Linked DNA regions of Homo sapiens: regions 1, 2, 4, 5 and 6 are each linked to region 3. Evidence: promoter capture Hi-C in 16 types of primary human blood cells and fetal thymus (Javierre and others, 2016). All regions are on one chromosome and are shown on one strand. The core of a region is centred on a gene start or on the middle of the fragment in contact, and the rest is flanking DNA. Distances in the headings are between cores, read along the strand shown.

The links. Contacts are between HindIII fragments. The CHiCAGO score rates a contact against its expected background, and 5 or more counts as called.
Region 1: a fragment that was not itself captured here is called in contact with the fragment with the promoter of TRAPPC3L in region 3 in 12 of 17 cell types (neutrophils, monocytes, naive B cells and 9 more); the score reaches 15.3 in neutrophils.
Region 2: a fragment that was not itself captured here is called in contact with the fragment with the promoter of TRAPPC3L in region 3 in 12 of 17 cell types (neutrophils, naive B cells, total B cells and 9 more); the score reaches 19.5 in neutrophils.
Region 4: a contact is called between a fragment that was not itself captured here and the fragment with the promoter of TRAPPC3L in region 3, in 16 of 17 cell types (neutrophils, total B cells, naive B cells and 13 more). The highest score is 34.3, in neutrophils.
Region 5: a fragment that was not itself captured here is called in contact with the fragment with the promoter of TRAPPC3L in region 3 in 6 of 17 cell types (neutrophils, naive B cells, monocytes and 3 more); the score reaches 14.9 in neutrophils.
Region 6: a fragment that was not itself captured here is called in contact with the fragment with the promoter of TRAPPC3L in region 3 in 3 of 17 cell types (total B cells, naive B cells and neutrophils); the score reaches 8.9 in total B cells.

What each region holds. Positions count from the first base shown.
Region 1 is chr6:116,327,581-116,331,354 of GRCh38, forward strand. It overlaps a transcript of DSE not described here. Among named protein-coding and RNA genes, the nearest start is that of DSE, 41 kb to the right of the region's middle. The HindIII fragment of the contact is 1,232 bases long and covers 1,794-3,025 here.
Region 2 is chr6:116,363,989-116,367,774 of GRCh38, forward strand. LOC100287467 (a long non-coding RNA gene) reads right to left here. Exons shown (of 1, transcript NR_148944.1): 1 at 3,437-3,786. It also overlaps a transcript of DSE not described here. Among named protein-coding and RNA genes, the nearest start is that of DSE, 5.1 kb to the right of the region's middle. The HindIII fragment of the contact is 3,293 bases long and covers 1-3,039 here.
Region 3 is chr6:116,544,143-116,547,654 of GRCh38, forward strand. TRAPPC3L (trafficking protein particle complex subunit 3L) reads right to left here and starts at 1,542. Exons shown (of 5, transcript NM_001139444.3): 1 at 1,331-1,542. The coding sequence starts at 1,372. It also overlaps a transcript of CALHM4 not described here. The HindIII fragment of the contact is 9,007 bases long and covers 1-3,045 here.
Region 4 is chr6:116,305,039-116,309,109 of GRCh38, forward strand. It overlaps a transcript of DSE not described here. Among named protein-coding and RNA genes, the nearest start is that of TSPYL1, 27 kb to the left of the region's middle. RefSeq lists an enhancer at 342-511. The HindIII fragment of the contact is 6,577 bases long and covers 1-4,071 here.
Region 5 is chr6:116,413,542-116,417,286 of GRCh38, forward strand. All of the region lies in intron 2 of DSE (dermatan sulfate epimerase), which reads left to right. Among named protein-coding and RNA genes, the nearest start is that of DSE, 44 kb to the left of the region's middle. The HindIII fragment of the contact is 8,630 bases long and covers 1-3,745 here.
Region 6 is chr6:116,346,348-116,350,159 of GRCh38, forward strand. It overlaps a transcript of DSE not described here. Among named protein-coding and RNA genes, the nearest start is that of DSE, 23 kb to the right of the region's middle. The HindIII fragment of the contact is 4,031 bases long and covers 62-3,812 here.

The sequences.
Region 1 (3,774 bases), core at 1,160-3,659, 220 kb before region 3:
TTACATAGAAGTCACTGGTATTACAGGATATTTGGAGGTCAAAACTTTAAAGTATTATCCATAATACTTGAATCCAAACTGCTCTTGGTAAATATTTCTGTTTGTTTCCGGTGAGCCCATTATTTGTTTATGCTTTCTGCCTCATTGGCCATTCTACATATTTTCTAGAAAATGTTCTATGATATATTTTACCTGCCTAATTTTGAGGGCAGTTGAAACCATTATGTGTGTTACTACAAAAACTGTGTTCTTACACAAGTAAATTTAGAGACACAACAGCTAAAAGTCTTTCTTTTAGCTGTTGTGGTATTTTCACTACTTTTAGTGTAAATTCAGGTCTGTTACTTAACATGGAGCTTCCGCCACAGAGGCCAGAGGAGCACATCAAAGCCAAAAGCACAGCAAGTCATCGGAGTTCAGATTCTTTTCTGCTTCCCTGCAGAGGGGTCAAGAATATAAACATACTCAACTGCTACAGCAGGAGGGAACATTAGCCCATCAACAGAACCAAACAGGAAGCACCAAATGGGCATTTCTTCTGTTTATTTTGTGATTATTAAGAAAGACGTAGTTTAGTTCCTTCAACCAAATTTGTCAATGAAACATAGAAAACATACAAGGTACAGTCATTTTGGTTAGGGGAGAGTCTGATTGTGAAAGGATTCAATGCTGTTTTTTCCAGTTATTTCACTTACTACAATGTATACAATAAGTTCTTAGGGTGTTGGAATTTAAAACTAATTAACATTTGTTACACTCTTTTGAGATTCACATTATGAGTCACTTAGATTTTAATCAAATTTCTCATACGTTTCCTTTCTGGACCGAGGAGACTGTGCACATATTGAGCAGAACAATTTTGCCTCCCTTCAGTTTGAGATGGGGTGCGAAGAGTTTCAGATACAGCCAGGAAATACCTCAAATGGCACTGCAGAGGTCTGTAAGACTGACCAAAATTTAAAATCTTGGTATATCCATTCCATTACATCAAAGTAAGTTCTAGTACTCCACTGCCAGTATCAGCAGATAATAAAAAATGACGCACATTGTAATGATTCAAGCAAGCCCAGTAAAGGAGCAAGAAGGAATGTAATATCTATTTTTGTGAAAGTTTCCAGAAATAAATCAACAAACCACTTTATTCTTCTTATAATTACTTGGAATCTCTTAATTCCAGAAGACTATCTGGCCTGCTGTTTAAAAGGAAGTGAGTGTTCCCTTTCAGCTTGCTTCACTATTTTTCTCATCCAGTCAGTGGTATGGGATACCAAGGATGGGATAAGGAGAGTAGTTCACCCCTAGTACAGGCAATAAGGGCTGCTTTGTGTGTAGAAAATTGAAAAGAAATAAAAATAAAATAATAATAAAAGCCAGTTCTGCTTACTACGCCTGGCAGTTCCGCTTACTATGCCTGGCAGTTCCAAGCAATATCAACAATACTACTCCTCTTTGAAAAATAAAAAAACTTTTGTTGGTCTAAGTTCTAAACAACTGCTGCAGTTGCTGAAATTTAACAAAACAAATGTAAGCTGAATATTACGTTTTTATTATTACTTATTATTTAATAAACATTGCATTCTATGTGGAAGTAATTCTAACTCTCAAATGCACATGGACTCAGCTATACTTGTTTATTTCAAGAATAAGCAGTCAAGTTCTGTTTCATTTTTATAATCACTCTGCTGTAATTGTTTATTTTTAGTCTGTGTTTAAATACAGGCTTACATAGTACCACAGGGACTGGAGATGTGACCTGAGCCTGAAGCAAGCTCAAATAATTCACAATCATTACAAGCTTTGGAGAATTTTACCAAATATGATAGAAATTTATGATGAATTTTCTGGTGAAGTTATTTTAGTGGAAATTTTTCAACAGCAGAAATATTTGAAAACTGCTGGAACTGATCCCAAAGAAAAAAGGATATGGGTAGTACTATAATTTCTGGAATTTATTGTGAAATGGGATTTGTATGAATCTGATGAATGTATTCTTATTTTAAAGATTTCATCACTATTTCCATATCTGTTATTTCACGTGAAACTTTTTGAAATTAAAATAAAAAATGTTCTTCAATCAACTATGAGTGATGTCAACACATCTGACCGCACTGATTTTACTGACCATGACTATATAAAGATTAATTTGACAAAGCATTGACAAATTTGCAAAAATTAATGCTCAAAGTCAGAAAACATAAAGTGATTATTCTTCACTGAGGCAAACCAGTATATAGGTATAAATATTTTTCTTTTCTTTTCTTTGAGATGGAGTCTTGCTCTGTCCCCAGGCTGGAGTGCAATGACGCGATCTCAGCTCAATGCAACCTCCGCCTTCCGGATTCAAGTGATTGTCCTGCCTCAGCCTCCCGGGTAGCTGGGATTACAGGCGCCTACCATCACGCCCAGCTGATTTTTTGTATTTTTAGTAGAGATGGGGTTTCATCATATTGGCCAGGCTGGCCTTGAACTCCCAACCTCAGGTGATCCACCTGCCTCGGCCTCCCAAAGTGCTGGGATTACAGGCGTGAGCCACTGCGCCTGGCCCATACTAATGTACTTAAAAAGTATTAAACCTTAACTTTTTGCATTTTCAGCTAAAATATATACTTTATTAATTTATTATTAGCATGATTACATAGTCAAAATTGAATAAATGAAAACTTTCACTGCCTGCATTTCTTTTCTGGACATAATTATTATTTGTTTCATTTCAAAATTATTACTGAAAATACTTTTATCATACAGAGGAAGGCGTATTAAAAATGGTCCCTTTCAGGCATCAAGTACCTAGCTATGCCACTGCATGCGTCTATTCATTTTAACTCAAAACAAAATGCATTTTTAATCTTTTTGGTATTACATATGTTTTTGACAATTATGCCAAAAAGCAATTTATTTTAATAAGGGAACTCTTAATAATCAAGAAATAGAAAGAGCTACCCTTAAATACAACTCTCAACTACCACCGATTTTGGTAATAACTATTTCTAGTTAATATATTTGATGTTTTGATTATTTTATTATAAGCTTAGTAGGATAAGAAAAATACAAAAAATACAACTGCATAAATCTCAACATGATGAAATAGAAATTATGACTATCTCCTTATGACTCAAAAAAGCTGAATCACTCATTTTAAACCTTCCAGTCTAGCAAATACCCTGATTTTATGCCTTTTCAGAAAACAGAAAAACAAAGATGTTCTCCAACCTAGCTTATAAAGTCAACACAACTTTGATATAAGAACATGAACATTAAATGATGAGGAAAAATTGCAGGCAACCTCAATCATGAACAGATATGCTTAAATTCTTAATATTAGATAACCATACAACATGTATATATGAAATGTCACAAGTTGAGTTTGTTGCAATTATGCAATGTTAGTTTAATATTAGAAAACTGAGAATTTATGACATTAACAGAATAAAGGAAAAAATTATATGATAATTGTACTAGATGCAGAAAAGCAGTTGGTTAAAGTAAGCATCTATTTATGATTAAAATACATCTTTGGGCAAACGAAGAATAGAAGAGAGCTTCTTTAATCAAATACAGGGTATCTACAAAACACCAATAATAAACACCATAGAAATACTGAAAACTTTCTTTCTGTGATCAGGAATAAGATAATAGTTGTATTAGTTCATTCTCTTGCTGCTATGATGAAATACCCAAGACTGGGTAATTTATAAAGGAAAGAGATTTAATTGACTCACAGTTCTGCAGGGCTGGGGAGGCCTCATGAAACTTACAATCATGGTGGAAGAGAAA
Region 2 (3,786 bases), core at 143-2,642, 180 kb before region 3:
AGGCTTGACTTCTCCTTCCACTTCTAACTAATTAGCAGCAAAAACTGGTAACAGTCCCCATCTATGTTAACCTTGGTTTCTTTGTAAAACAAAATGGTTAGAATATAATTATTCCAAGTTTCCTTATACTTTTCTCACTTAGATGACAAATACTTCTAAGGAATGCTGTGTTTTTTGTTTGTTTGTTAAACTGTTGTTGGGTTTTTATTTTGTTATTTTAACATTTTTTTAAAATGGCAGTGTTTCCATTTGGCCAAGATGAGTAAAAATGGCAAAATCAAAATGTCACTATTAAAAAATCAAAAATGAAAGAAAACATGGAAAAAGAACCAGTGTGTATTCTTTGGAGTTTGGTGAGAAAGGACATAGAAACATGTCACTAGACTACATACTTAAGTTTAACATCAGCAAACTGTCGACTATTTCCCATCTAAAAGATACTATAAATGCAAAATAGCCAAGATTTTCTTTGCCTGACACGGGTAATCTCATCAGCAGAAGAAAAGGCCTGAGCAGAAGGAGAAGTCTGAATGGCCTGGCTGTTAAATGTTTTACTGGAATTCACTATGTGTAATACTCAGGCAGCAGAAACTTGAAGTGAAACATTAACTGCAATATGAAGTCAACTTCACTAGTTCAGCCAGTATTGACATCAAATATTATTTTTCCCAAACTGCATATCCAACAAAAGTATTTAGAAAGAAATACATTAGTGAGCTTGAGTTAATAAAAACTAATCTTCACAATATTTTATATAATTAATAAACCAGAAGAAATGTGGCAAATAAACATATTCTCTAATTAATACTTCCTTTGGTTCAAGTACCTGTTTAGTAACACTTTTTTTTTTTTTTTTTTTTTTGACACCGAGTTTCACTCTTGTTGCCCAGGCTGGAGTGCAGTGGTGTGATCTCGGCTCACTGCAACCTCTGCCTCTTGGGTTCCAGCAATTCTCGTGCCTCAGCCTCCTGAGTAACTGGGATTACAGTGTGCGCCACCATGCCCGGCTAATTTTTTGTGTGTGTTTTTAGTAGAGATGGGGTTTTGCCATGTTGCCCAGGCTGATCTCGAACTCCTGGGCTCAAGCAGTTTGCCTGCATTGGCCTCCCAAAGTGCTGGGATTACAGGTGTGAGCCACCTCACCCAGCCTATTTAGTAACACTCTATAAAACAGTGGTTCCAAACTTTTGGTACATTGGAATCACAGAGTTTTAAACACCTCAAACTTTCTAATTTGGTTGGTACAGACTATAACTGGGGCATCGGAAGTTCTTTTTTTGTGGGGGGGATGGAGTCTTGCTCTATCGCCCAGGCTGGAGTGCAGTGGTGCAATCGGCTCACTGCAAGCTCCGCCTCCTGGGTTCACGCCATTCTCCTGCCTCAGCCTCCCAAGTAGCTGGGACTACAAGCACCCACCACCACGCCTGGCTAATTTTTTGTATATTTAGTAGAGACGGGGTTTCACCATGTTAGCCAGGATGGTCTCGATCTCCTGACCTCGTGATCTGCCCATCTCGGCCTCCCAAAGTGCTGGGATCACAGCCGTGAGCCACCGCACGTGGCCGGAAGTTCTTAAAGCTCTCCAGATGGTTCTAATGTGCAGCAAAGTTTGGGAAGCACCACTACGTAGCATTGGTTCTAACTCTGGCTGCACATTGGAACTATCTCGTACCTTTAAAAGCATATGGGGTATCTGGACTTCATCCTAGAAGGAATTAAATCAGAATTTCTAAGAGTACAACTAGGCATTGGTGTGTTTTGGGTTCTCCCAAGTGATGCTAATATGCACCCAGGGGTTAGAATTACTATTATAGAATACTGCCACGACAATCCTTATCTCCTCCTGAAGAGCACAGAAGGCTTGATTTCCAAACTATTGCAAAAACTGGCATGACCTCAACTACTTTTAGCAGGGTTCTGAGAGGTAGGGTATCACTCACCTTAATTGCTTCAGATCCTGCCTGAAAAATGCCCAGGCATGTTCCAGTCCACACAAGACTGATTCCAAAGGGTGTATCTCTCATTGACAGCCCCTAGAACCATTCTAAGTTATGACAATAAACACCTACTTACTGAGTTCTCATTCCTTGGCAGGTATTTTATATACAACGTTTGGTTTGCTCCTTCCAGAAACTGTATGAGAAAAGTTTGCATATCAAAATCCTACTGATGAGAAAGTGGAACTCAACAATGTTAAATGACTTGCCTGCCTAAGGTCACACAGTTAGTGACAGAGTCTAGATTTCAGCCTAGTTTTGTTCAACTTCAAAGTCCTTGCTCTTATTTGATGGACACATTAAATTATCCACCATGGTATCTAGACTGGGACACAGCCACAATCTGAAAATTGAATTCTAATTTAATAAACGTGCCCTCTGCCAGGAAATATGAGGAATGGCTATAGAAATGAAGAAGAGTCTCTACCATGAAGGAGCTTATAATACTAAATGTTACACTCCTTTTGGTCTATTAAGTCTAAGGAAAAGAATAAACATCTAATTTCATTCATTCATGTAACAAATATCAGTAATTTTTGTAATTTCAGAGAACAATATTATAATTTGGAAGGTGTTTAGGACACCTTAGGTAGTTTATAATAAGAGGTGATATAAAATCATCCATTTCAAAAGTCAATTGTCAATGAATGGAGAATAGCTTTCAACTGAGGCCAGGATACGCAAACTGTAAATGAGGCTTTAGACACAAAAAGTTAGTCTAGGCCAAGTGGTTTAGTGGAAGGATCCTAGATTTTATGTCAGAAAACATAATTGTTATGTGGTCTGAACCATTTATGGTTTGGGAAATTCACTTTAACTTTCAGAGCCTCTGTTTCCTCATCAGTCAGTGCCTGTGAGGATAAAAGGAGACACGTATGGACGTGCCTGGTACATTTCATGACCTATTAGAAGATTGTGAGGCCAGGAAGTATGTACCTGCAGAAATCTCAAATTGTGACTTGCAGTGGAGGTGGAATTCAATTATTATTAAGAATGTAGGTCAATGTTTCATTTTTTTTAAAGATGAAAACTAAGCCCACGAAGCTTGAGTCATCTGGAGATGAAGCAGTCGCAGCGGAGCAGTCTTGGTAATGGAGAAGATCATGTCAGCGCTGAGAAAGGCAGGGAGGGAGGCCTGAGCAAGGAAGCTTGGAGAAGCCTCTGGAGGATGCCTGGCCAGGGCTGAATGCTCAGAAATGGAAGGGAAAGCTCAGGAGATTATCACTGAATCAGTAAGTACAAGTACAGGGCAGTATGGCTTGAGCAAACCAAAATGATCTTACTTCTTCTGTGATCTGAAGATGAGAGAATCTATAGGTGCAGGGTAAGGCAGTTTTACAAATAGAATAATTTTGGCCTGAGGAAGAAAAACAAAAAGCATTTCAAGAATGGAAGCAGATGTATAGTCATGGACCAGACTGATTAGTAAAACATAAAAGGCAGATTAAAATTTAGTTTAATGAATTAAACTCAAGAGGAGAACAGAAGCCGCATACCTGTAACAGCCCTGTAATATTGTTACTCTGTTATTTTAGGCTAAAGCCAAGAATAAACTAAGGACGACAACAACAAAAAATAACATTTTGTTTTGTTCAGACAAGAAGAACATGGAAGGGATGCCTCTGCTTGAGATAAAATGGATGACTAAACAAAACTAATTCCCTTTTTTTTGTCTTCTCTATTATGTAAAAATAAACCATTAAATGTAAGGGATAAAATAAGCTTTCAAAGAGTTAACTGAAAAGATAGGTGAAGAAGCTTGTAAGAAAATATGTCCTAGCTGTCTAAA
Region 3 (3,512 bases), core at 292-2,791:
AGGTGAAGAAGAGAGAGAGAGAGAGAGAGAGAGAGAGAGAATGATGAGATTGTTGTGACTAGCAGTAAAACAAAAGAATTTGAAAAAGAGAAAAGTAGAAAAAATCATACCCTACCTACATGCCATGGCCCCAACATTGTGTCCCTTTATAATTAAGGCCAAACTGAAATAGTGGAATTTCTTCTCTGTCCCTGATGGGTGGGCACTATTATATATTGAAATCTATTTTATTTCCAGCTGAGTTTCTGGTTCAGTACCCATAAAGGCCAGCTTTCTCTATTCTGCTTCATGGCCAAGGACTGTACCTTGAACTATCTGTTCAATTGGGTCTCAAATCCATACCACAGATGCCAGGAAAGGTCAACATAAGTTTATCTTTATCGTTTTTAAAACAATAAAAATAATCATATGAATATCTGAAAGAACATCATTAACTATTTCAGTAGGTTATGAATGTATCAGGATAAAAATACATTTTAACTGCTTTATAAAATCAAGTGATTTCGGTATAATATGAACTATGTACCATATATTTTTAGCACTTGAGAGTCCCACAGGAAAATAAATCAAGATCCCAGAAGGCCAGAGGAGGTATCTGCAGGCATTTCAAACTGAAGTATGCTAGTTAGTCACTACAATTCTAAACACCAAGTCTGAAATTACTTAATTATATCAAATGCCCATCAGTCTCCTGACATAATTAACAGAATTTTAAAGTTAACAGTGAGTTTTTGTATCTGTAGTATCTGAGTGACTAAAACTATAAGAGAGTATTAAAGAATATTATTTAAAACTAATCTGCAAAAAAATAAGGTTTATAAATAACTCTTAACCTGGAATATATAGAAAGGATGATATTACATACCAAGCTACAATAAGACTAGGAAACATTTTTAAAGGCAATCCTTTTTTGATGACCTATTTCGATTCAGTTTTACACATAATCAACTATATATATACACACATATATATATACATACATACATATATATACATATACATATATATGTAAGTTCCCATTTCCTGAAGTATGAAATAGAAAAAATTGCTAATATTTTCATATTTTCTGTCAGAGGTGAAAAAATTGACACTCATATTGATATAATTAGTCAGAAAAGAAGACCTTAAAGTGTGTATAAAGAATTGATTATTCTTTATGTAGGAGATAATCATAATTATTCCTAGATGTGTCATTTATGATTCACTTCGCTGAACACTGTCTTTCCTCCACTAAAAATTCTTATAGCATCAGTTTTTAAAATCAATCAGAAATCACTCAAGAAAACATTTTCTCTGAAGTAGAAAAAATCTCTTTGTAGAAAGATCTTACTATTTTATGGTATTCTGGTCTTCGGTGTGCAGGGCGAGACATAGTGCTTGATAGATGAAGAATATGATCTTCAATTTCTCTTCTTTTGCCTGTTTCTTAGAGGTGTATCAGTCCATGTCTTTTTGTTTTGTTTTTGTAAGCTCTTCCTCGCTTTGAGACAGGAGTGCTGCTTCTGCACTCTGCTGCTTTTGCTCTTTGCTGAGCTGAAGAGGGAAAAAAACCATGAACAACAGGATTGTCTTATAGCCACGTAACTTGCCATGGATCAAATAACTGCTTCATTTGTAAGGATGAATTGTAATCTAGAGCCATAAAAGCTGATAATGTGAAGTCAGACCTGAAGCACTGCAACTCAAAAAATTCTTTAGCCCGAGGGAGTTCAAGAGTGGTGTTTTGTTCTCAGGCCAAGACATTGTTTTAAAATCAGAAACAGAAACCTTCGCAATCCAAGATAGATCTAAATGTTAGCATTATTCAGTCTTGGATTGATTGTTGTAAGAATTAGAGAGACAAGATCAGCAATCTGTAGGTAATAAATCCTGAGTTAAAACGTGATCCCTCAACTACACCAATGGTTATCACACTGTCCCCAAAACCATAGATCCCTATCTTGTGTGATTACAGTATTCAAATATATCTGGTAACTTTTTTGCTTTTCATTAGCAGCAATCAACAACATTAAGGAGTGATAGAATGGGCAATATTTTCTTACAAAACTGTTGTTCAAAATGGGCGCTCTACAGTATCATAATGTATAATGATTCTGATAGAGAAAGTAAGCCCTTAGCTTTCTTTTGAGAGCTCCTGAGACGTAAGCTATTGAAGGCTCTCTTTATTTACGCAGAAATACTTAAAGTTCAAATAAAAAAATCCTTTCACCTTGACAACTGCAGGGTGCAGAGTAGGATCAAAATCTTTCCAGAAATGGAAGCGGAAAACTCAGTTTAGGAAAGTAATTTTCTTCTACTTATAGTTTGAGTCCATTAGTCCTATTTGTTCTGGAAAATTCTTGCTATAAAGTGACAAACTCAAGAATACTTTGACGAAAAGTGTGGTGTAGTTGAAAGAACCTAGGAGGATTTGGAAGGCTCAGGCTGTTGCAGCCCTACCATTTACTGGCTGTGTGGCATTGGGCAAGCCATTTTATTGCTCTATGACTCAGTTTCCACATTTGCAAAATGGCAACAATATCACTCACCTCACAGAATAATTGTGAGAACCAAAGAGACGAGGCGTACCGTAAAACACATTAAAATGCACCATATAATAACTAGTTACTATAGGTTATTCTTGTGGTTGGATAAATTGAATGGAATTCTACAATACCTAAGGCATTTCCATCACTGCATATGTTCTATGACACTATGATCTCAGGAAAATTAATTTCACTTAGTTGTGGGGTATGGGGTGGAGAGTTTTTCAGTAGCAAATAATAACGACTTATATGTATATCAAATTTACAGTTTACAACATGGTTTTCGTTCTCTTCATCTCATTTTAATTCAGATACAATCTGTGAAATAGTACTGTAATCATGGCCATTTTACAGGATAAGAATCTAAAAGTAGAGAGGTTGAGAAATGTATTCAAGGTTATCTGGATGTTGGCAACAAGAAGGGATTTGGGCTAATTTTGATGATTCCAAGTCAAATTTATTTTGTACCGCACACACTCTAATTATGTTAGAGCAAACTATTTTAGAGGCAGACTCAAAAAGCTTACTAAGGTGCAGGGACAGCATGTTGCTGGGTCAATTTGTGGGCAATCCTAGTTCTGAGTAAGATACCCCAGAGAATAACCTACAAAGGGCCTGTGTGCTTGCTGCGAGGTGATGGCGGTACTGGAATCAATTTCACCAAACTCTAATGGCTGTGGTATGGTCACATTATGGCCATCGGGAGAATTCGGGATGTCATTGGATGTATTAGAAAAAGCCGGCTTTTACTTCAGACTGACATGGCTCCCCTCTGCTCCATTGACCTTCCAGTCAAGACACGAGCTTAAGGAAGGAGCAGAGCCCCTGCCAGGTGCTACTGTACAAAGCACAACCTTCACGACCACAGCTGTACTCATCATCACAGGGGACACTGGTTTGCTGGTTTTCAGTCTATGAAACCTGCTAGTCTTCAGCAGCTCTTAGGATGCAAGTGAGCCCTGTGTTCCCCAGACTCCTTTTTTAATG
Region 4 (4,071 bases), core at 1,226-3,725, 240 kb before region 3:
TCTCCTTCAACCTAGAATCAAACAAAAACAAAATCTGCTGTTTATCCTGTAGTCCTTGTCACTCCACTAAATGGTCCAAATTAGAATCAAACTTTCCTTTTTTTTTTTTTCTTTTTGCACATAACCTGCGCTAAATCCTGTTGGGTCTCCCACATAAGTGTCCTCCCTTCTCTCCCATCCTCTCCCATCCCAGTAGCATCTTAGCTGGTTTGATCTCCCAAGGCTCCTCCCTGCCCCTTATTTAATACTCTCTGTCATCTATCCATTTCTTTCTTGAAGACCTTAGTTATTTTTCAGTAATAAAGATTTTAAAACATATTGTTGCTTTAAAAGTTCTCACTATTAAAGAAAAGGTTAGTTTCCTGAAACAAAAAATAAAATAAAGACTCAGGAACTGTTCCAGATTGAAGGAGACAAAAGAAGCAAGAAAGTGAAATGCAATACATGGTCCTGGATTAGGTCCTATACAAGAAAAACAATTGACATAGTATACAGATCACTATTAAGGCAATTGACAAAATTGGAATAGATAAAATTATTACATCAGTGTTAATGTCCTGAGTTTGATAATTATACCGTAGCTATAGAGTATCCTTTTTTTTGTTTTTGTTTTTTTGAGTTGGAGTTTCGCTCTTGTTGCCCAGGCTGGAGTGCAATGGCGTAATCTTGGCTCACTGAAATCTCTGCCTCCCAGGTTCAAGCGATTCTCCTGCTTTAGCCCCCTGAGTAGCTGGGATTACAGTGTAGCATGTGCCACCACAGCCAGCTAATTTTTGTATTTTTAGTAGAGACAGCGTTTCACTATGTTGGTCAGGCTGGTCTTGAACTCCTGACCTCAGGTGATCCACCCACTTCAGCCTCCCAAAGTGCTGGGATTACAAGTGTGAGCCACCGTGCCTGGCATAGAGTATCTTTATTTCTGTAACATATACACTGAATTATTAAGAGATAAAGGGATTAATGTGTGAACCCATTCTCAACTAGTTTAGAAAAAAATGTATGTATGTACATGTGAGTATGTGTATGTGTGTATAGATACACATACACATCCATATCAGTATATAAATGATATATGCATATATATGTAAAAAGAGAACAATAAATATGGCAAGAGAGTAATGATTGGTAAATCTGGATAAAAACTACAAAGAAGTTCTTTGTACTATTCTTGCAACCTTTCTATAAGTTTAAAATTATTTCAACATAGAAACTTTTAAAAACTCAATTTTTAGATATTGAACTTATGTAACTGTTATCCAAACAACAGACTTTATTATAACATACATACACACACAGGTACATACACATACAATTTCATAAACTTCCCACTGCCCATAAAAAGAAATTTTAAGCTCATAAACATTATGCTCAGGGAGTTTCTACAATCAGGTCTCATCCTAATTTTCCTGCCTCACTTTTTGCTTTCTCTAAGGCACTCCTTACTCTATATATGCTGAAATGATTATGTTTGTTTCTCCTTCTGTGTTTTTGTTCCTGCTGTTTGCTCTATAAGGTAAGCCCTCCCAGCTCTTCCACTGGTTACCTCCTATGCCTGCTTTGAGACCAAGTTCAAATGTTGCTTCTATAATACCCTTCTCTACAGCACTAGGCAGATACAACTCTTCCCTCTTTTTGTGAACTGAATGTTGTGTTCCCCCAAAATTTATATGTTGAAGCCATAACTCTCAATGTGATACTCTTTAGAGATGGGGCCTTTGGGAGGAATTAGGGTTAGATGAAGTTATGGGGGCAGGACCCTAATGATGGGATTTGTGCCCTAAGAGCTCTCTTTGCCTTGGGAAGATACAACAAGAAGGCTGCCATCTACAAGCCAGAAAGGGAGCCCTCCCCAGGAGCCAAATTGACTAGCACCTTGATCTTGGACTTCCCAGCATCCAGAACTGTGAGAAAATACAAAAAACATTTCTGTTTTTTAATCTATTCAGTCTATGTTATTTTGTTAGGGCAGCATGAGCAGACTAATATACCTCCTCTGTGTATTCATACAACTTTACACAGAGGTAAAATATAGCAGTTAGAACTCTATCTTATATTGGGTTGTTGATGAATCTTTCACACAGGCATGTGAGTCCTGAGGACAGCAGCTATGTGTTTCATCTTTCTGTCCCTAACTCACTGCCTGACCCATGGAGACCTTAAGTCCAGGCTTGCTGAATGAATATGGCATAATCTGAACCTGACCACTCCAATCATTCATTAACCTTACTGTTTGGGTGTGGATTGATCATTACTTTTCTTGAATTTGTGACAAGATAATTTCAGCAGTTGACAGACAGCTAGTTTCTAGTCAAGCCGATGCATTGTATATGCTCCTACTTGCCTGTTCCTATGTCTTCAGTGATGGATTCAGTGACCTGAAGAGTGTATCTTAATAAAGAATTTTGAATGCATTTGGTTGAAAACATTCTGAAAAGAACCTTTTCTTCATACATTTTATATGGATATGAACTAGACAATAATGTATGCTTATAATAATTGAGAAGTTTTTAAAAATGAGATGCTGTTACTAATAAATTATGATTAATTCTTTCTCTAAAGGTAGTACGAAGTTAAACAATGGTAGGAATCTTGGTCTCTGTTTATTATCCTTACTCCAACTCATCTTTCATTACAAATAATTTTTTTATACAGTCCCCTCTCTACCCTCTTACACAGAGGCATTTCAGCAGATATTTTATTGAAAACAAAACACTGTGCAGCCCATGCTGCACAAGGAAAGAAGTGTGTACAAGATAATTCCAAAGGGCAATACATGTTTCTAGTTAAAAATTGGAGGGTCATGTAAATATGAACTGTTTAGTCAAGTTCAGGTAAAATTAGGAGGAATTACTGGAAAAGCGTGAACAGTGAATATATTCCTTAGTTCTAATTCTTTCAATAGTCATCTCTATCAACTCAGAGATTGCTTTTGCTTGTTTTCTTTGTTTTTTATTTCATTCTGTACAGGGCCTTGAACATTCAGTGACAATTTATGGTAACTGCAGAGTATACCATCACCATCCTGTGTTCTTTGGATAACCAGCTGGCCTAATTTTGAATGTCCTGAACCACATATTACTATAGCTCTGTGTTAACTATGTCATGGAGTGGATTTATTTCTCCTGTTGACTATTAGACAACCTGGTTGCTTCCACTTACTATTTATTCAACTAATACTGCCTGTTATATTGTATGTTGTAAGAGTTGGAGGCAAGTTGTTTCCTGGTAAGCATTAGACTCAGAAATTCTGGGAGTGTTTTTGTTTTGTTTTTAAGCTCGGCTTCAATCTTGTAAGAGATTTGTAAATCTCGTAAATGTATAAGGTAACATAGAACTTGATGTGACCTTGTTTACTCTTAGATATTTTGATATGAGCTGTTTAGACAGAAAATATTTGTTGATAAATATGAATGAAAACATAAGGAATATTGAACAGGAGGTTAAATGTCAAAGTATTATGACGATGGCCTGGCATAGTAGGTGGAATGAGGGCTTTTTAATGAGAAAGATCAGTGCCCACATTCTTGTTTTGTGACTTACTAGCTATATTTTTAAAGCAATTTACATAAACTCTTGAGCCTCAAGTATACCTTCTATAAAATGGTGATAATAACACCCATCTTTTGTTGCATTTTTTTGTTTTTTGGGGTTTTTTTTGAGATGGAGTCTCACTCTGTCACCCAGGCTGGAGTGCAGTGGCATGATCTCGGCTCACTGCAAGCTCCGCCTCCCGGGTTCATGCCATTCTCCTGCCTCAGCCTCCCAAGTAGCTGGGACTACAGGCGCCCACCACCATGCCCAGCTAATTTTTTGTGCTGGGATTACAGGTGTGAGCCACAGTGCCCGGCCTTGTTGCATTCTTTTGAAAATGAATAAAAACGGTATATAAATTATGAGTTACCGTGCCTTGAGCATAATAGATACTCATAATAGATATTCTAATAAATAGTGGCTCTTATGGTTAATGTTTTTTAAATCAAGAGGACAAATAAGATCAATTAAAATTTCTAATTGATTATTACTTTTACTAAAAGTTTTTATTTTGTTTAGAACAGCCATTAGTAAATTGAA
Region 5 (3,745 bases), core at 619-3,118, 130 kb before region 3:
TTATATGTCAGGTTTCCGGGGCTGAATGGAATAAACTGTGCAGAGCATTATTTCCTACTGCACCCAGAGTAAAATCAGCCACAGTTCATTCACTGTTTTAAAAAGGCCTCTGGATTTTATGAAGCTCTGCATAATTTCAGCAAAACCTTTAAAAATCAAATTATCAAAGAAAATTATTCATAAAACATTAAAAGCAGAAATAGTGGGTAAATATATTAACCGTACTCTAAGAGACAGCAAAATATCATTTCACGTATGCTAGCTCCTCCAGGCCTACCTCACTTTGGATTTGATGTTTTCCCACCATGAGGGCAGCAAAAATTGGTGATTTGACTACGGTTTTTCCCATTGTGAAAAAGTGTCCCTCATTATTTTGAAACTTCATTCCTCAAGTAATTCTTTGCCCTTTTGCCTGCCGTGTTCTCAGAATATTAGGCAAGTGCTCTTTCAAGTAAATGGGAGTAACTGAGTGTTCAGGCAGCGACAGGAAGATGATGGGGAGTGTACGAGGTGGCAGCAATGGCCGGTCAGGTTTTTTAGTGTCGGTGTATTTGTTGCTAGGGCTGCTGTAACAAAATACCATAGACTAGGTGGCTTAAACCAACAGAAATTTATTCTCTCTCAGTTCTGGAAGCTAGAAGTCTGAAATCAAGATATCAATAGGCTTCATTCCTTCTGGAGGCTCTCTGAAGGAGAGACCATCCTAAGCTGCTCTCCTAGCTTCTGGTGGTTGTAGGCAATCTTTGGTGTTCTTGGCTTGCAAATGCATCATCTCTCTCTCACTCTGACACAGATAAGTTATTTCATTACAATATAGATCTGTTTTATTTTATAAATATGCCATAATTTTAATGAGTGGAATATCAAGTGTTTGCTCATTTTTTTTTTTAGGTGGAGTTTCGCTCTTGTTGCCCAGGATGGAGTGCAATGGCCCGATCTCAGCTCACCGCAACCTCCACCTCCTGGGTTCAAGCGATTCTCCTGCCTCAGCCTCCCTAGTAGCTGGGATTACAGGCATGTGCCACCACGCCCAGCTAATGTTGTATTTTTAGTAGAGATGGGGTTTCTGCATGTTGGTCAGGCTGGTCTCGAACTCCCGACCTCAGGTGATCCGCCTGCCTCGGCCTCCCAAAGTGCTGGGATTACAGGTGTGAGCCACCACGCCCAGCCTGTTTGCATATTTTAACAAGGCAAAAGTTATTGACAACTGAACTATATTGTATACTGTAATGACTTTTCAATGTGTGTACAACTCTTTGTTTTCTCTTGGATTCATAATAGCTTTTTGTTTTATTTGGTAAGTTTTTTATATGGTTATCTCTAGTGACCAGCCAGACTCTCACTCTTGTGTAAGTTTTCTATCTATTCAAACAAGACATTCTTAATAAGACATTTTTTAAAAATAATTCATCTTTTTGAAGAAGTAATGCTGCATCTTTTTGACATGCTAGGATGTGGATTGCTTGCAGCCAGGTCTGCTGTACAGCCATCTTTGTTCCTTTTTCTCTTGAATTGGATTCCTTGTGCCATGTCTTCTTTTTGATATACATCCTAATTTAGGTGGAGATATTTTCCACTGGCTTCCAGAGAAAGCATTTATGAGAGGTAAATTTTGAGACCTTGGATGTCTGTATATGTTTTTTCTTCCCTCAAGTTTAAAGGGTAGCTTGGCTGGATATGAAATTATAGTCTGGAAATTGTCTCTCTGAGTTTTGGAGTCATTGTTTTATTGTATACTAGTGTCTAGTGTTGCTGTTGAGATGTCTGACCCCACTATTCCTGATGCTTTGAATGAAACCTGATATTCCACTCTGAAGCATATAGGATCTTTTTTATGTTACTAGTGTTTTGAAATTACGGGATGATGTATCTTGTTTTGAGATGAGTCTGTGTACTGTGCACTTCATGGATTCTTTCAATATGGAAACTTATCCCCTTTAGTTCTAGCAATTTTCCTTGATATATTTGGATCTCCTTTTCTTCCCCCTTTTTTCTTTTTTCTTTCTTTTTTTTTTCCTCTCTTCTTTTTCACATGTTTAACCTCTTGGGCCAGTCCTCTTTTTTTTTTTTCCTCTGCTGTTTTCTATTTTATTTTCTTACTTTTTTTGCATTTTCAAGGTTTCTTCAACTTTTCTCCCCAGCCCTTTTATTGCACTTACCTTCCTGCTATTTTGTTTTCCATTTCAAGAGCTTCTTTTGTCTTGAAATTTCTTTCTGCCTGCATGGTTTAATTTCTCCCAAGCTGCATTAATGAGTTTGTTCATTTGGGTCTCTTTTGTCCTATTATGGGATTTCCACAAATCTCTGGTAGTCCTTGACTGCCTAAAAATGCATACAAATGCTGTAACAAATTACCACATACTCAGTGGCCTAAAACAGCACAGAGTGATCTTACAGTTTTGTAGAAGTGTAACACAGGGCTAAAATCAAGGTGTTAGCAGGGCTACATTTTATTCTGGAAGCTCTAGGGCAGAATACTTTTCTTTGCCTTTTTCTAGCTTTTGGAGTTCACATATATTCCTTTGCTTGTAGCTCCCTGCCTCCACCTTCAAAGCTAGCAACCTTGCATCTCTTTGATTCTTCCTCCATGGTCACATCTCTCTCCGACTACAGCCAAGAAAGGTTCTTTGCTTTTAAGGACCCGTGTGACTAGATTGGGACCACCTGGGTAATCTAGAATAATCTCCCATCACAAGGTTTTAAATCATATCTACAAAGTCCCTTTGCCCCAGTGGAAGGTAATGTATGCACAGTTTCTTGGGGGACTGTTATTTTGCCTGTCACAGGTTCTAAACAGCTAATTGCCACTGTGTGTGTGTGTGTGTGTGTGTGTGTGTGTGTGTGTGTGTGTGTGTAGCTTTTTGACTGCACTATAAGGTTGATAGTTTGATTAAATCTTTTTCATTGGGAAATACTTGGTGTTCAGAATCTTTAGATTTTTATTCTTCATTATAGACTTCTTGTCCTCCGGAGTCATGTTATATTTAAAATAGATGGTATATTTTTGATGTTGTGTGTTATAAAATTTATATTAAATTTTTATAAGATAAATAAATGTGTCAACTACATACAGTTATTATAACTGCTCAGTTCTTGCCCAAGCCAACATTTATATATTATATTTTCTTCTCTGACAGGACTGGCCACTGTCCATCATCCTGGCTATTCTTGCATGTTTATTTTTTTTTTTCTTAAAATCATACTGACTACTGACAATTGCTAACTGGCAGTTGTCTGTATGGCTTCTCACATGATCACTGGATGCTTGCATAGACATTGACTGAGTGATAACATCAAAAAGTTGTCCAGCTGAACTTTTTGAAACATATTTTACACATACAGTTGTAAAACATGTTAGGCATTTAAAATATCAAGCTCCTTTTTAAAATGGGTAAATATCATTAAATTATAATTTTCATGAACAATATAGGCAGACCTGGTTATTCCCTCCTATTGCCTTTCCAGGTTTTAAAATTTCTCCATTATAATAGATTCTTTAAGAATTTGTCATTAGAATTTGATATGTAAGTGTATTTTTAACCGTAGTCTTTAAGCTATGCCATTCTACCAAAATAGAGGTCTTGTTCCTAAATTTGAATAATTTTTACTTATCATGTTTCTTCCTCTCACCTTTTGTAGGTTGAATATTAGGGCAAAGTATACTTACTCAGTTAAAAGGGATTACAATTATAAATGTTGTTTGATTCCATTTAAATAGATTATGTTTGGGTGGCATGCTTGGATA
Region 6 (3,812 bases), core at 827-3,326, 200 kb before region 3:
AACATCGATGCAAAAATCCTCAATAAAATACTGGCAAACCGAATCCAGCAGCACATCAAAAAGCTTATCCACCATGATCAAATGGGCTTCATCCCTGGGATACAAGGCTGGTTCAACATACACAAATCAATAAACGTAATCCAGCATATAAACAGAACCAAAGACAAAAACCACATGATTATCTCAATAGATGCAGAAAAGGCCTTTGACAAAATTCAACAGCGCCTCATGCTAAAAACTTTCAATAAACTAGGTATTGATGGGATGTATGTCAAAATAATAAGAGCTATTTATGACAAACCCACAGCCAATATCATACTGAATGGGCAAAAACTGGAAGCATTCCATTTGAAAACTAGCACAAGACAGAGACGCCCTCTCTTACCACTCCTATTCAAAATAGTGTTGGAAGTTCTGGCCAGGGCAATCAGGCAGGAGAAAGAAATAAAGGGTATTGGATTAGGAAAAGAGGAAGTCAAATTGTCCCTGTTTGCAGATGACATGGTTATATATCTAGAAAACCCCATCATCTCAGCCCAAAATCTCCTTAAGCTGATAAGCAACTTCAGCAGAGTCTCAGGATACAAAATCAATATGCAAAAATCACAAGCATTCCTATACACCAATAACAGACAAACAGAGAGCAAAATCATGAGTGAACTCCCATTCACAATTGCTTCAAAGAGAATAAAATACCTAGGAATCCAACTTACAAGGGATGTGAAGGACTTCTTATGGAGAACTACAGACCACTGCTCAATTAAATAAAAGAGGACACAAACAAATGGAAGAACATTCCATGCTCATGGATAGGAGGAATCAATATCCTGAAAATGGCCATACTGTCCAAGGTAATTTATAGATTCAGTGCCATCCCCATCAAGCTACCAATGACTTTCTTCACAGAATTGGAGAAAACTCCTCTAAAGTTCATATGGAACCAAAAAAAGAGCCCGCATTGCCAAGACAATCCTAAGCAAAAAGAACAAAGCTGGAGGCATCATGCTACCTGACTTCAAACTATACTACAAGGCTACAGTAACCAAAACAGCATGGTACTGGTACCAAAACAGCATGGTACTGGTACCAAAACAGAGATATAGACCAATGGAACAGAACAGAGCCCTCAGAAATAATACCACACATCTACAACCATCTGATCTTTGACAAACCTGACAAAAACAAGAAATGGAGAAAAGATTCCCTGTTTAATTAAGTGGTTCTGGGAAAACTGGCTAGCCATATGTAGAAAGCTGAAACTGGATCCCTTCCTTACACCGCATACAAAAATTAATTCAAGATGGATTAAAGACTTAAATGTTAGACCTAAAACCATAAAAACCCTAGAAGAAAACCTAGGCAATACCATTCAGGACATAGGCATGTGCAAGGACTTCATGACTAAAACATCAAAAGCAATGGCAACAAAAGCCAAAATTGACAAATGGAATCTAATTAAACTAAAGAGCTTCTGCACAGCAAAAGAAACTACCATCAGAGTTAACAGGCAACCTACACAATGGGAGAAAATTTTTACAATCTACCCATGTGACAAAGGGCTAATATCCAGAATCTACAAAGAACTTAAACAAATTTATGAGAAATAAATCAAACAACCCCATCAAAAAGTGGGTGAAGGATGTGAACAGACACTTCTCAAAAGAAGACATTTTTGCACCCAACGGACACATTAAAAAATGGTCATCATCACTGGCCATCAGAGAAATGCAAATCAAAACCACAATGAGATACCATCTCACACCAGTTAGAATGGCAATCATTAAAAAGTCAAGAAACAGGCTGGGCACGGTGGCTCACGCCTGTAATCCCAGCACTTTGGGAGGCCAAAGCGGGTGGATTGTGAGGTCAGGAGATCAAGACCATCCTGGCTAACACGGTGAAACCCCGTGTCTACTAAAAATTAAAAAAATTAGCCAGGCATGGTGGCTGGCGCCTGTAGTCCCAGCTACTCGGGAGGCTGAGGAAAGAGAATGGCGTGAACCTGGGAGACGGAGCTTGAAGTGAGCCGAGATCGTGCCACTGCACTCTAGCCTGGGCGACAGAGTGAGACTCCGTCTCAAAAAAAACAAAAAAAAACAAAAAAAAAACCCCAAAAGTCAGGAAACAACAGGTGCTGGAGAGGATGTGGAGAAATAGGAATACTTTTACACTGTTAGTGGGACTGTAAAGTAGTTCAACCATTGTGGAAGACAGTGTGGCGATTCCTCAAGGATCTAGAACTAGAAATACCATTTGACCCAGCCATCCCATTACTGGGTATATACCCAAAGGATTATAAATCATGCTGCTATAAAGACACATGCACACGTATGTTTATTGCGGCATTATTCACGATAGCAAAGACTTGGAACCAACCCAAATGTCCATCAATGATAGACTGGATTAAGAACATGTGGCACATATACACCATGGAATACTATGCAGCCATAAAAAAGGATGAGTTCATGTCCTTTGTAGGGACATGGATGAAGCTGGAAACCATCATTCTGAGCAAACTATCTCAAGGACAGAAAACCAAACACCACATGTTCTCACTCATAGGTGGGAATTGAACAATGAGAACACTTGGACACAGGGTGGGGAACATCACACACCAGGGTGGGGTGGGTGGAGGGGGGAGGGATAGCATTAGGAGATATACCTAATGTAAATGATGAGTTAACAGGTGCAGCAAACCAACATGGCACATGTATACATATGTAACAAACCTGCACGTTGTTCTCATGTACCCTAGAACATAAAGTATAACCAAAATATATATATACACATACATATACATATATATCAATATTTATATACACTAATATAAAATGGATATGTATACATATATACATATATCTACACACACACACCCATATACATACATACACACCTCTAAACCTGGATTCCTAAAGGTTTTCCCATGCCAGTATGGCTTAGTGATTGGATAGAGGTTGTGCTGAAACACTTGAGCCAATGAAGTTTCTGTCTTTTGCCAAAGGATCTCTGTGTGGTAGGGGAGCTCACTCAGAGTTCAGGTGCTTTCAAGCTGACTCAAGCTCCAGCTTTTACTGACCACTGGACCTTTTCTTATCTCTTTTATGCAAACAAATTCAGGGGTAGCCGGGATTGAGTGACTAGCTCGGGCCTTCTCCAGGAAATATACACAGCCAGAGAAGTATTCTCCAACTGTGACTACAGCCTCAGACTAGTAGAGCAGTTGGCTTTCCCTGTTTACCCACCTCAGAGATCAGCACTTTTACCAAATATGCTGCTGGGAGTGGTCATTTCTCATCACTCCAGATTGAGTGAGCTCTCATGGATCGTGACAGAGAAGCTGCCTGTCCTCATGGCCTGGCCTCCTTCTATAAAACCTCTGTCCTTACTGAAGTGAGGAGGAAGGGAGGGCAGATATGTGAGTAGCTTCAGGCTAGAATGCCACAGGTTCTCATTATTCTTATATTCAGCAGTTTTTCAAGCCTAAACACTTCTCAGGTTGTATGCCTTTGGTTGATTTTCAGAGTGCTAAAATGATTGTTTTTGTCAATTTTATCCAGCTTTATAGTTACTTTTTACAGAGAGAATTTGTCTCCTCACTTGGCCATAACCAAAAGCTCACCACTTACTACCTTTAAAAGAATCACTTACATATTAATTATTTCATGTTTACATGCATAGTCTTTTTAAAAAAATACCTAAATGTACTACTCCCTTTTATAGTGTTTAGGAATCTGAACTTATAATTTTAAGAGGCTAATTAGCTCAAATCCAGTTTCATTTTTAAATTTTATATCTTGCTTTTTTCTATGTCA